Regions from separate parts of the Homo sapiens genome. Here region 2 is linked to region 1. The links are contacts of gene promoters, found by promoter capture Hi-C in blood cells and fetal thymus (Javierre and others, 2016). All regions are on one chromosome and are shown on one strand. The core of a region is centred on a gene start or on the middle of the fragment in contact, and the rest is flanking DNA. Distances in the headings are between cores, read along the strand shown.

What was found. The method cuts DNA at HindIII sites, captures the fragments that hold promoters and counts their contacts. A CHiCAGO score of 5 or more calls a contact.
Region 2: a fragment that was not itself captured here is called in contact with the fragment with the promoter of SORT1 in region 1 in 4 of 17 cell types (total CD8 T cells, fetal thymus, naive CD8 T cells and 1 more); the score reaches 7.3 in total CD8 T cells.

Annotation. Positions count from the first base shown.
Region 1 is chr1:109,395,953-109,401,074 of GRCh38, forward strand. It overlaps SORT1 (sortilin 1), which reads right to left and starts at 1,966. Exons shown (of 20, transcript NM_002959.7): 1 at 1,635-1,966. The coding sequence starts at 1,940. PSMA5 (proteasome 20S subunit alpha 5) reads right to left here. Exons shown (of 9, transcript NM_002790.4): 9 at 3,090-5,122. RefSeq lists silencers at 1,743-1,842, 1,853-1,922, 1,963-2,092 and an enhancer at 2,119-3,100. The HindIII fragment of the contact is 10,275 bases long and covers 1-2,993 here.
Region 2 is chr1:108,826,809-108,831,930 of GRCh38, forward strand. AKNAD1 (AKNA domain containing 1) reads right to left here. Exons shown (of 16, transcript NM_152763.5): 10 at 3,751-3,842; 11 at 397-494. All of the region lies in intron 2 of LOC105378891 (a long non-coding RNA gene), which reads left to right. Among named protein-coding and RNA genes, the nearest start is that of AKNAD1, 28 kb to the right of the region's middle. The HindIII fragment of the contact is 371 bases long and covers 2,704-3,074 here.

The DNA of each region.
Region 1 (5,122 bases), core at 716-3,215:
ATGTACCAGTAGTCCCGGCTACTTGGGAGGCTGAGGTGAGAGGATCACTTGAGCCCAGGAGGTCAGGGCTGCAGTGAGCTGTGATCACACCACTGCATTCCAGCCTGGGCAACAGAGTGAGACCCTATCTCAAAAAAAAAATAGTAATTACACAAAAATTAGCTAGGCATAGTGGTGCACACCTGTAGTCCCAGCTACTCAGGAGGCTGAGGTAAGACTCTATCTCACAAAAAAAGAGAAAAAGAAAAACAGGAGTAAATCTAAATCCAGGAGTAGCAGCAGACCTAAAGTTAGGTCAACCAGCGAGAGAAGAATTTGAAATATGGAGCAAGAATGCTGTGACCAGCTAGCTCAAGGAAGGAAGTGGTCCAGTATAAATTAAGCATTAGTGTTGTAAAGCCTTTCTCAATCCCCCACTGTGAGAAGGAAGTCTATTCGATTTTTTTTTCTCATCAAGTAGGAAGACTTCCCAGTACTCATTCTACCCAACCTGTCTCACCCTCCAGCACTAGCTTGGCTACCTTTACACAGCTGCTGCTCGGGATACACTAAGCACAATTATTCCTGAATATTTGTGTCTTGTGTCCTCAGATCAGAGAATTCTATTACAGGTAACAAGTATGGTCCAGATAACCAGGCAGTCCAAAGGGAGACTGAGGCTTGGCTGACGCTGAAAAACGGTTACAGAAGGACAAGTGCTGGCACAGAGCCTTGGCCACCCATCTCTGCCCCCAAGTGCAATTCATTTTCTTTGAAAGAGGAAAACAGGCAAGGGAGAAAATATATAGAATTGAAAATACATTATGCAAATGTGGCTAGCAAGGATTAAATTGTTAATTTTAGAGAAATAGGAGAAAGATGCCCAAGTTGTGCTGAAGCAAGGAACCAGGACTTTCTTAATAATTAGTTTTGTCAGTCCAGTAGTGTGCAAAGGTTGAGCTGCTTGTCCCCAGGGACAGAAATCCCATAATTTTGAAAGTCTTTTGACCAAGAGCTGGCTCAAAGCAGAATATGTGCAATGCGTTTCTTAACTATTGAAAATCTTGTCACCACGGGATATAGACATGCTAGTCAGACTTCCGTACCATGACAGAAGGTCAAATCTGAAGCAGTAAAAGAGATCACATAAATATTGCCATCTCATTTCCAAGCTAGTCCCCTTAACTATTAAAACACGGTGACCAGATCGCTGCTTCGGGCCTCCTGAACTCCCGCCTCTCCCACCCGGAAAGTACTGACCCAGAGAGGACACACCTTTGCTTCTGCGCAGCCCAACTTCTGCAAGCGCTCAAGAGTTAATTACTCCTTCACCTTCCTGGGGCCTAACAGCGTTACTGGGTCCTGATTATTTATACAGACGAAAAACGATGTTCAAGAGATTTTGACAACTTAAAAAAAAAAAAAAGAATGCGGTGGAAGTCTAAGATTGCCTCCCCTATGACAAAACACAGCCCCGCCGGCCGCCCGGGCCCGACTCCGCCCGCCCGCCCGCCGCAGTTTCGGGGCTGCGGCCCGGGGGACGCGGGCGCGGCAGGGCTGGGGTCTCCTCCGGGAGTCGCGGGGCGCACGGGCCGGGAGGGGCACGCGGGCGGCACCTCGCACCCGAGCGGCTCCCGGGCCCGGCGCCCGCTCACCTGGTGCGTGTTGTTGGCCAGCTTGGCGACGAAGTCCCGGACCCGGCCGCACTCCTCGTCCTCGCCCGGCGCGCTGCGACGCCAACGGCCGCCGCGGGGAAACGCGCCCCCGGCTGCGGCCGCCCGCAGCCCCCAGCTCACCCCGATGGGGCCAGACCAGCGCGGCAGCGGCGCAGCGGGCGGCGGCGGCGCGTCCAGCCGGTCCTGGCTGAGGGTCGACGGCGGCAGCAGCTGCAGGAGGAGGAGGAGGCCGAGGCCATGGGGCCAGCGCGAGAGGCCGTCCGCAGCTCCCCAGGGCCGCTCCATCGCCGCCGAATGCCGCCGACGCCGACACCTGCCGCCCGGCGCGCCCGCCCACCCCCGCCGGCGCGCGCCACACCCCCGAGCCGAGCGCGGCGCTCCTTGGATACGCGCGGCCGGGCCTCTCCGCCCCATAGGCTGGCCGCCTGTCCCTCTTCCCCGGCCCACTCCTCATTGGCTCGCGTCGCCTCCGGCTTCGGGGGTCCTGGATTCGGATGCTAAGATGCGGGACTGATTGGCTGGAACGGGGCAGAGACTGCTGAGGTCAACCCCGCCTCGCCCGGCGTCTCCCGGGCCCGGCTTGTGGAGTTCACGTAGGAGCTTCTCATACCTTCCCGCCGAGCCCCGGGCTCCTGGCGTCGCGACCCCTTGCCGCACCTCTAGCGCCCTCAAGTTGGGGCTGGGTTACGTCCCTCCTGTTCCCCAGAGACACTCCTAAAATTCCTTCGGTGAGGCAGAGCCTGGAAAAACCTACCCAGGAAATCCCTGAGCTTGCTCAGCTGGAAAAGGGGGCTCCATCATGAACCGGGGCTTCGGGTTTTTATAAACCCCGCTCACTGGAGCGCCCATTGTCTGCTAAGCAGCTGCCTTGCTGCAAGAAGGTGAATGCGAACTGATGTGGGCCACATCCTACGGAGACAGACATCAGGACATCCGTGACTCCTGCAAGCCTGAAGAATAGTCTTTCCATACGTTTGGCCTCTCTCACCTTCCTCTTCTGAGGGGAGGTAGGCCAAAGGCGGAATTACTTACAGGTTTTCCAGGACTTCGAATGTAGCTTAGGCATTAGGGGCAGGTAAAAGAGGGGCAAGAGAATGATCCAATGCCTACTGTACACATGATCATTTCCTAGATGCACATTTATTTTACCAAAGTGCCTTAACTCTGCAGTGAGAGCTTCGGACAAGTTTGGTTCCAGTATGTGATGTCCTCTAAATTAGCACCCCGATCCACCTCTAATGAATAAAATAAAACCCCTACGCTGTTCCCTTTACCGCAGAAGCTGCACACACAACTTCTACAACACGTAGCACAGGTAAAACCAGTTCTGAATCCTTAAGCTTACTGACTCCATCCCTTCAGAAAGCTAGAAATTGTTCAGTAGAAAAGGTAGCAAATAGAAAGATACAAAATATGCAAGTCATTACACTCAAAGCAAGTAAAGATTACTTTTAATTATAAACTGGCCATAAACCCAAATGAGGATATAGTCATTGTAGAGCAAAATGATACAATGCACCCAACCCGATATTTACATTAAAATATTTCCAGTCACATTAACTTTCAAACAAAAAGACTTAACGAATTTACAAATTTTTCCAAGACGTGAGAAGTGAAAAATGTTTTTGAATGCCATCTGAGCAGGATAGTAAAATCACTAGAATAGTCTTTTTAAGTTCTCAGTTACTGGACTGAAAAGATAAAGCTGATGAAAATTGGTGAACAATTTGTTCCTTTCCATAACTACTATCAGATTAATTTAAAAAAGATTATTTTTAAATCTATGCCAACTATGGGAGTAGATCACAAGACAGTCAGTTCCAGTAGCATGTGATTAGGTGGGGGGAGGAAAGGGGGTTATAAAGGAATATTTCTTTGTTTGGGTGACACAAAGATGAATGGTCTATTGTCTTACTGTCTGAAAAGAAAAAACAACTCAACAGTGCCACCTCCTGGAGAAATTACCAAATACACTTTTAAACGCTATTAAATTTGTTCCAATTATCTGTACCTTCACTTTTTAGTATGTTGCTTTTAGTTATCACAGGCTTACAGTACTTATATATTTCCTTCTTCAAACTGTATCAGCTTCTGGGACATGGTAACTTGCATATGGCACTGAGAAAATGTTTGAGTGAATATATTTATTATTTCACTTTTTAAATTGGAAACCCTAGGAACTATATTTCATTTTTGTCTAATGAGATTGACATTAAATATAAAAGTGGCACTGTCAGTTCTCCTTTGTGAGATACTGGACATAAGATTTCACCTTATTTGCAGGACTAAAGTAAATTTATCTTATTACTAAAAACCGTACCTTTCTCCAGGAAACATTCTATAGCAGAAAGATAACATAAAGCAATTACACATCATGAAACCATTGCTGTTCGTAGTAAGATCACTTCTTTAACCTAAGAAAGCTTGTTTTAATATTCTACAAAAAAATCAAAGTTCTACCTCTTTGAAGAATGCCAATTATAGAAGGTACGAAATTTACTGTTTTACCAGGTAAAACACAAATATGCTGCCCAGCCAGTGGGAGGGAAAACAACTTAAGCTGAGGCGAACGGACATAGGCTAAGAGCTACTCCTTAGTATTTGGGCATTTTTCCCCCTATGAAATGCATGTGATTCAGAGACACAACTCACCTCTCCCAAAAGCAACATGGGCTTTATCCATTTCTGCATTAACCTAGAGTTAAAAAGGAATATTGTTTATTGTTTGGCTCTCCCCACTAGAAGTTTCACAGGAGCACAGATCATATCTACCATTTGAACAGCTCTCTGCCTGATGGCTAATACATTTCTTGGCATATAGTAGGTAGGTGCTCAATAAATTTGTTACAGGAATAAATGAGATAGGATTTTCAAGGGTATTTTCTATTAGGATTTAATAAAACAAAGTGATCTTTAGAGAAACAAATCTCCCCATCAACATGCTATACTTAATAAGTGTTAAAATCACTAGAAGTCTCTGGAACATTCAGTAACAATATACTCTAATTCTCTGCTTTCCTTATGTGTTATTCTAGGGCAAAATCCCTTTCTTCCAAATGTTTCCTATCATTGCAGTTTCCAAATGTATATAAACATGTTGTTTTTTGTTGAACTACAGTATGGATTTAGTATGAATTCAGCCTATCCAAATAGTCATAATTTATTAACATATAGTACAACTTCCTACACATCAATATACCCAGAGCCCAGCAAATAATTATGGGGTCCCTGTTAGTGAATTAAATCAATTCTGCATCATCCACATATGGATTAGCCATGTTGTGGACAGTGCAAGTACTTTTCAAATCTCCAGATTTCCCTATTACTCAAGAGCTGGTGATCTGAAACAAGAAAATTTGAGCTGTTCAAGTCCCAACAGCTTAATTTTGTGTGTCCATGGGCACACAGCATTAGATTCTTCATCTGTTAAGTAGTGATACTGATACCATCTTCCCGTGGTAATTTTT
Region 2 (5,122 bases), core at 1,639-4,138, 570 kb before region 1:
GGCTCACTGCAGCCTCAACCTCCCGGACTCAAGCAATCTTCCCACCTTAGTCTCCCAAGTAGCTGGGACTACAGGCGTGAGCCACCACACCTGGCTAATTTTTGTATTTTTTTTGTACAGATGGAATGTCACCATGTTGGCCAGGCTGGTCTTGAACTCCTGAGCTCAAGTGATCCACCCGCCTCAGCCTCCCAAAGTGCTGGAATTACAGGCATGAGCCCCCATGCCCAGCCTATTAATTCTTTACATTTTGCAAATAAATAAATACAACATGCAACATCCTAGTGTAGGGAAATGCTCTTGGAGTGGCAGATGGCAAGCTGGTGCCTACTGCGAGCAGACCCCATGGGGAGGGACACTGAAAAATGAGCACCCAGCCCAAGCCCATCAACTTACTGGGAGTTGAATCTGAGTGTGGTGCCTTTTCATGAAGGACAATTGAAAATCTTCCACAGTTGATCCTTCCGTGGCCCTTTTTCTCCACGTTTTGCTTCCTAAAAAAAGGTGCATAAGATCCTGTAAACTTTTAGTGCATTTCCAATAGATAGGGAAAGTTTTGGTAAAGTTGAAACGTTAAATTTTGTTATATTAGAGCCTGGAACAGTGTAGGAGGGGCTTGTCATCCTCTACACAGAGCTCTCCTCTGCCTGCCTGTTTGAGAGCTTTTCTACAAGAAATTGCACCCCAGCACAATTTGGCCTGATAAGAAAATGTATACAAGACAGGCCAGGCGCGGTGGCTCACGCCTGTAATCCCAGCACTTTGGGAGGCTGAGGCGGGCGGATCACGAGGTCAGGAGATCGAGACCATCCTGGCTAACACGGTGAAACCCTGTCTCTACTAAAAGTACAAAAAATTAGCTGGGCGCCGTAGTGGGTGCCTGTAGTCCCAGCTACTCGGGAGGCTGAGGCAGGAGAATGGCGGGAACCCGGGAGGCGGAGCTTGCAGTGAGCCGAGATCGCGCCACTGCACTCCAGCCTGGGTGACAGAGCGAGACTCCTACTCAAAAAAAAAAAAAAGAAAATGTATACAAGACATGAAAAATAAATGTTTTGTTCTGCCGAGGTTAATATCTAATCATCACATACACATTCACAAAACACATTTGAAGTATGGAATTATAAAATTTGGAGTTTTCCTCATGCATCAAAATCCATTCCAGGCTGGGTATGGTGGCTCATGCCTGTAATCCCAGCACTTTGGGAGGCCAAGGAGGGTGGATGGCTTGAGACTAGGAGTTCAAGGTCAGCCAGGGCAACATGGCAAAACCTCATCTCAAAAACAAACAAACAAACAAACAAACAAACAAACAGTTCCTACCAGGGGAAGAAACTATGCTATACGTCAGTAATGGGTCACGTAGCTTTGGTCCTGGAAGTACAAGCTGATTACATCCAACAACTCCAGCAAAGTGGGCTTTGCCGGGTGTCTGTGGGACTAAAGGCTGAGGGAGCACGTGAAGGTGATTTTAGTTGCACATGGCCACCAGGTGGCGTCAGAAAGAAGCAACTGCAATGGACATTGTTCAGGAGCCTTCCTGTGGCCCACCTGCAGCTTCCTCCCTCCTCCTCAGAAATCCCAACTCCTCCAAAGGAATTCGAATTAATAACAGTTCTGAACAAAGCTCTTGCTAAGCTCCTGGGATACAGTCATAGCCCCCAGGGAAAGTTGTTCATTCTTAGTATGGAAGGCACTGTGCCCGAGATATCCTGGCATAAATGAGGCAGATTGCCCAGGGCTAGGGTTTGAGCCCAAGGCATTGCTGGGCAAACACATGCTCGCCGCGCTGTGCCCTGGCCTGCTGTTGGCGGAGAAGGGATGGGGCTGCGGGTTTGTGGGGCTGGGGCTGAGAAGCCAGGCTCTTTCCCTCCTCTTGGAAAAACATGCTGTCCTCTTGAGTCACATATTTTCTCACACCTCATTTTCTGTCTCCACCCTTCTCCTCTGGGGCATTTGAACATCTGCTCTCCAAAGTGGGAAACTTGGATCTCACTCAAGTGCATGCAGTCCAACACAGGACTTTTTCTGCTTTTAAACTCCTTTGTGTACTCAAATCTTCTGGCCAAACATAATTCCTCTGGAGAAGACAGTTTTTCAACAAGACAAAGCAGCTAAAGTACACACTTAAATCCAAAGTTTTGCATCAGAAATAACATAAAGGGATAAGCATATTTTACATTTTATACATATGTAATTTATCCACTTATATATAAACAATTTACAAATATCCTGAAAACAGTATGTACCTCAGCAAGCTTCATAAAGGACAAGTCCCATCAGAGAGAGATTTAATCTTCTAACAGAAAGAATATATAGTCCTCCCTTCAATCAATAATTCCTCAGGGATTATGTAAGTTACAAGATTTTAATTCATAAGTCATGTGTATCTTCTCATCACTCCCCAGCAGTGGATTCACTGTGAGATTTGATTTTACACTTGGTTGTGCTTGTCTTTCCAGCTTGTCTATCATAAAAAAGTATTATTTAGTCTGGAACATTGGTCCCTGTCTTGGTACTTAATGTACTTCTGTAGGGTCTAGACTAGGAATTTAGAAGAGAGAAATTTAGTACCTTGAGTGCTTAATAAAAATGGTTCTTTAATGTCAAAATACTTTCATTATACTTAGTAAAACCTTTAAAAATCCAAAATTAGACTTTAATTCAATAAATAAAAATAGTAGGCCTGGGATGACTCAGTGAGTAAGCTTCATGAGTGCCCCTTGGATTAAAGGGCAGCTCAAAGCTGATGACTGACATGGTGGTTTAATGACCCACACACAATGACACATGACCATTTTTAGCACGAGCTTCATGCAGTTTCTTTTTTCAGGGGTGGACACTCATTAGAACTCTTAAGGCAGGTGCCCATTCCCACAATGGAATGCTTTCTAACAGGAAGCCTCAGTCTTTCAGACCCTGTCATCTGCTTCTATTAGAATCCATTACGTACATATAACAGTGGTTGCTAAACACCTGCTGCCTCCCTGACTCTTGACCTTCCAAAGGTCAATGAGCCGAGCTTTGGCCGGAGTCCACAGTGAGCTTAGAGGTAACATCTCTCGCTACCTGAAAGAAGCTTCAAATAAATGATACTGAATCGACACAGATTAATAGTTGCACCAATGGGTGTTTCAAAAACAAAGGATTTCTCCTGAGGATTTTACATGATTTACAGCTTGTTAGCTCTGGAAGATTTCGTCCTTAGGAATGGGAAGAAATCAGCCCTGAGAAGAGGGATGAGGCTTGTTCCTGGGACTGGGGGGCTCAGGTGAAACCCAACAGAGAAGACTTTTGCTCATCATAAGGAGAGAGTAGGGATGGTGGGAGCTGTTTGTTATACAGGATAAGAATCCCCCATGTGGGCAATGATCAAAAGCCTACAGGACCACCCTCCGTGGGCTGTAACCATGATTCTTAACCAAGGGGGCTTATCGGAATCACCTGGGGAGATTTAAAAGCAATATTCCTACCAGAGCCCCACCGCTGGCGATGCTGAGACAGTAGGTGGGATGGAGGCATGTGCATGATTGTAAAATCTCCCATGGTGATTTTGATGGTCTCCCCAGTTGAGGACCACTGCTAGAGGATCTGTAGGGTGCGAGGGAGGCTGGGCTCTGTGCCCAGGCCTGAGATCTGTGACTCTATAACTCAGCCAGTGGCCTCAGTTAGTTGCCGCCCACTCTCACTGGAGTTACTATGCCAGGACTGACTCCAATCCACCCTGGGAATGTAGCCACAAGAAGCCCTCACCATTCAAGGAGCCTGCGACAGAAGGCACAGCTCGGACTGGGTGCCGTCATCTCTGCACAATCCTGCCTTCTTGGAGTGCCGTTGGGATCCTCCTGCGCCACAAAGCACACAGATGGAGATGTGATAGAGGATGTGACTCACGCCGCGGCTGCACACGCACAGCCCAGCAAGCAGCTGAGGTCCGGCTGAACTTGCCACCTCAGGCAGAGAGACTCGCCAAACCTCTCCTCCAGTTGGGGAAAGGGAGGCGCAGGGGGACAGGAGGGAAAGAAGAAAGAGCCCATCCTTAGTTCTGATGTGTCACTCAGTCGGGGCTGCGCCTCTAATGGCCTGGGCTGAAGAATGGAAGTTTCCACCCTGGCTTGCTTCCTTCCTCCTCTAAACAGATTTTAAAATCTGGTGTACAGATGACAGAATACTCTCCCCTTTTTATCTTTCCCTTAGTTTCAAATTACTCCAAGCTTCGCCAGATAATGAACAGATTTAGGAACATAATTTTTAGATCTATTAATCTGACCGCTGGCTAGTAGAGCTCTAAAAGCCTTTCTAAATAAATATATTCAACTATGAATTAAAACAGGGTTTAGGGACTGTCTGGGGGCCTAAATGATTGGTTATATGTCCCTCTTTAACACAAAACAATTACTCCACTGACCTGTGAGGGCTGTTACCACCCACTGTGTATTTTTGACTAAGGTCTTACCCTTTATGTAAGTAAAAAATAAATGTACTTTTCCCATCATTATAAACAATGGCAGAAGCATCATTGTACACATAGCTTTTTCCACATCTTGGATTACTTCCTGAGGAAATGTCTGGGCCAAAGGTTGCGAACATGTTTGTGTGATGACCCATATTGCCAAATTGCTTTCCACAAAAGTTGTACAGATTTCACAGCCACCAACAGTGTGGACGGCTCAGTTTGACCACACCTTCCTCTGCATCAGGAATTATCACTTGAAAATGTTTCTGTTAATTGAAGGGAGGGGTGTGTCACCTTTTGTGTTAATTTGCATTTCCTCTGTGACTAAAGGAAATAAGTCTGTTCCTATATGCTGATTTATTGGTTGTATTTCCTACCTGTGACTTTTTTTTTTTTTTTTGAGACGGAGTCTCACTCTGTTGCCCAGGCTGGAGTGCAGTGGCCTAATCTCAGCTCCCGGGTTCAAGCAATTCTTCTGGCTCAGCCCCCCAAGTAGCTGGGATTACAGGTGCCCACCACTACCCCCAGCTAATTTTTTGTATTTTTAGTGGAGACAGTTTCACCATGTTGGCCGGGCTGGTCTTGAGCTCCTGACCTCATGATTCGCCCACCTCGGCCTCCCAAAGTACTGGGATTACTTTAATTGTGAGTAATTGTGTGAGCCACTGC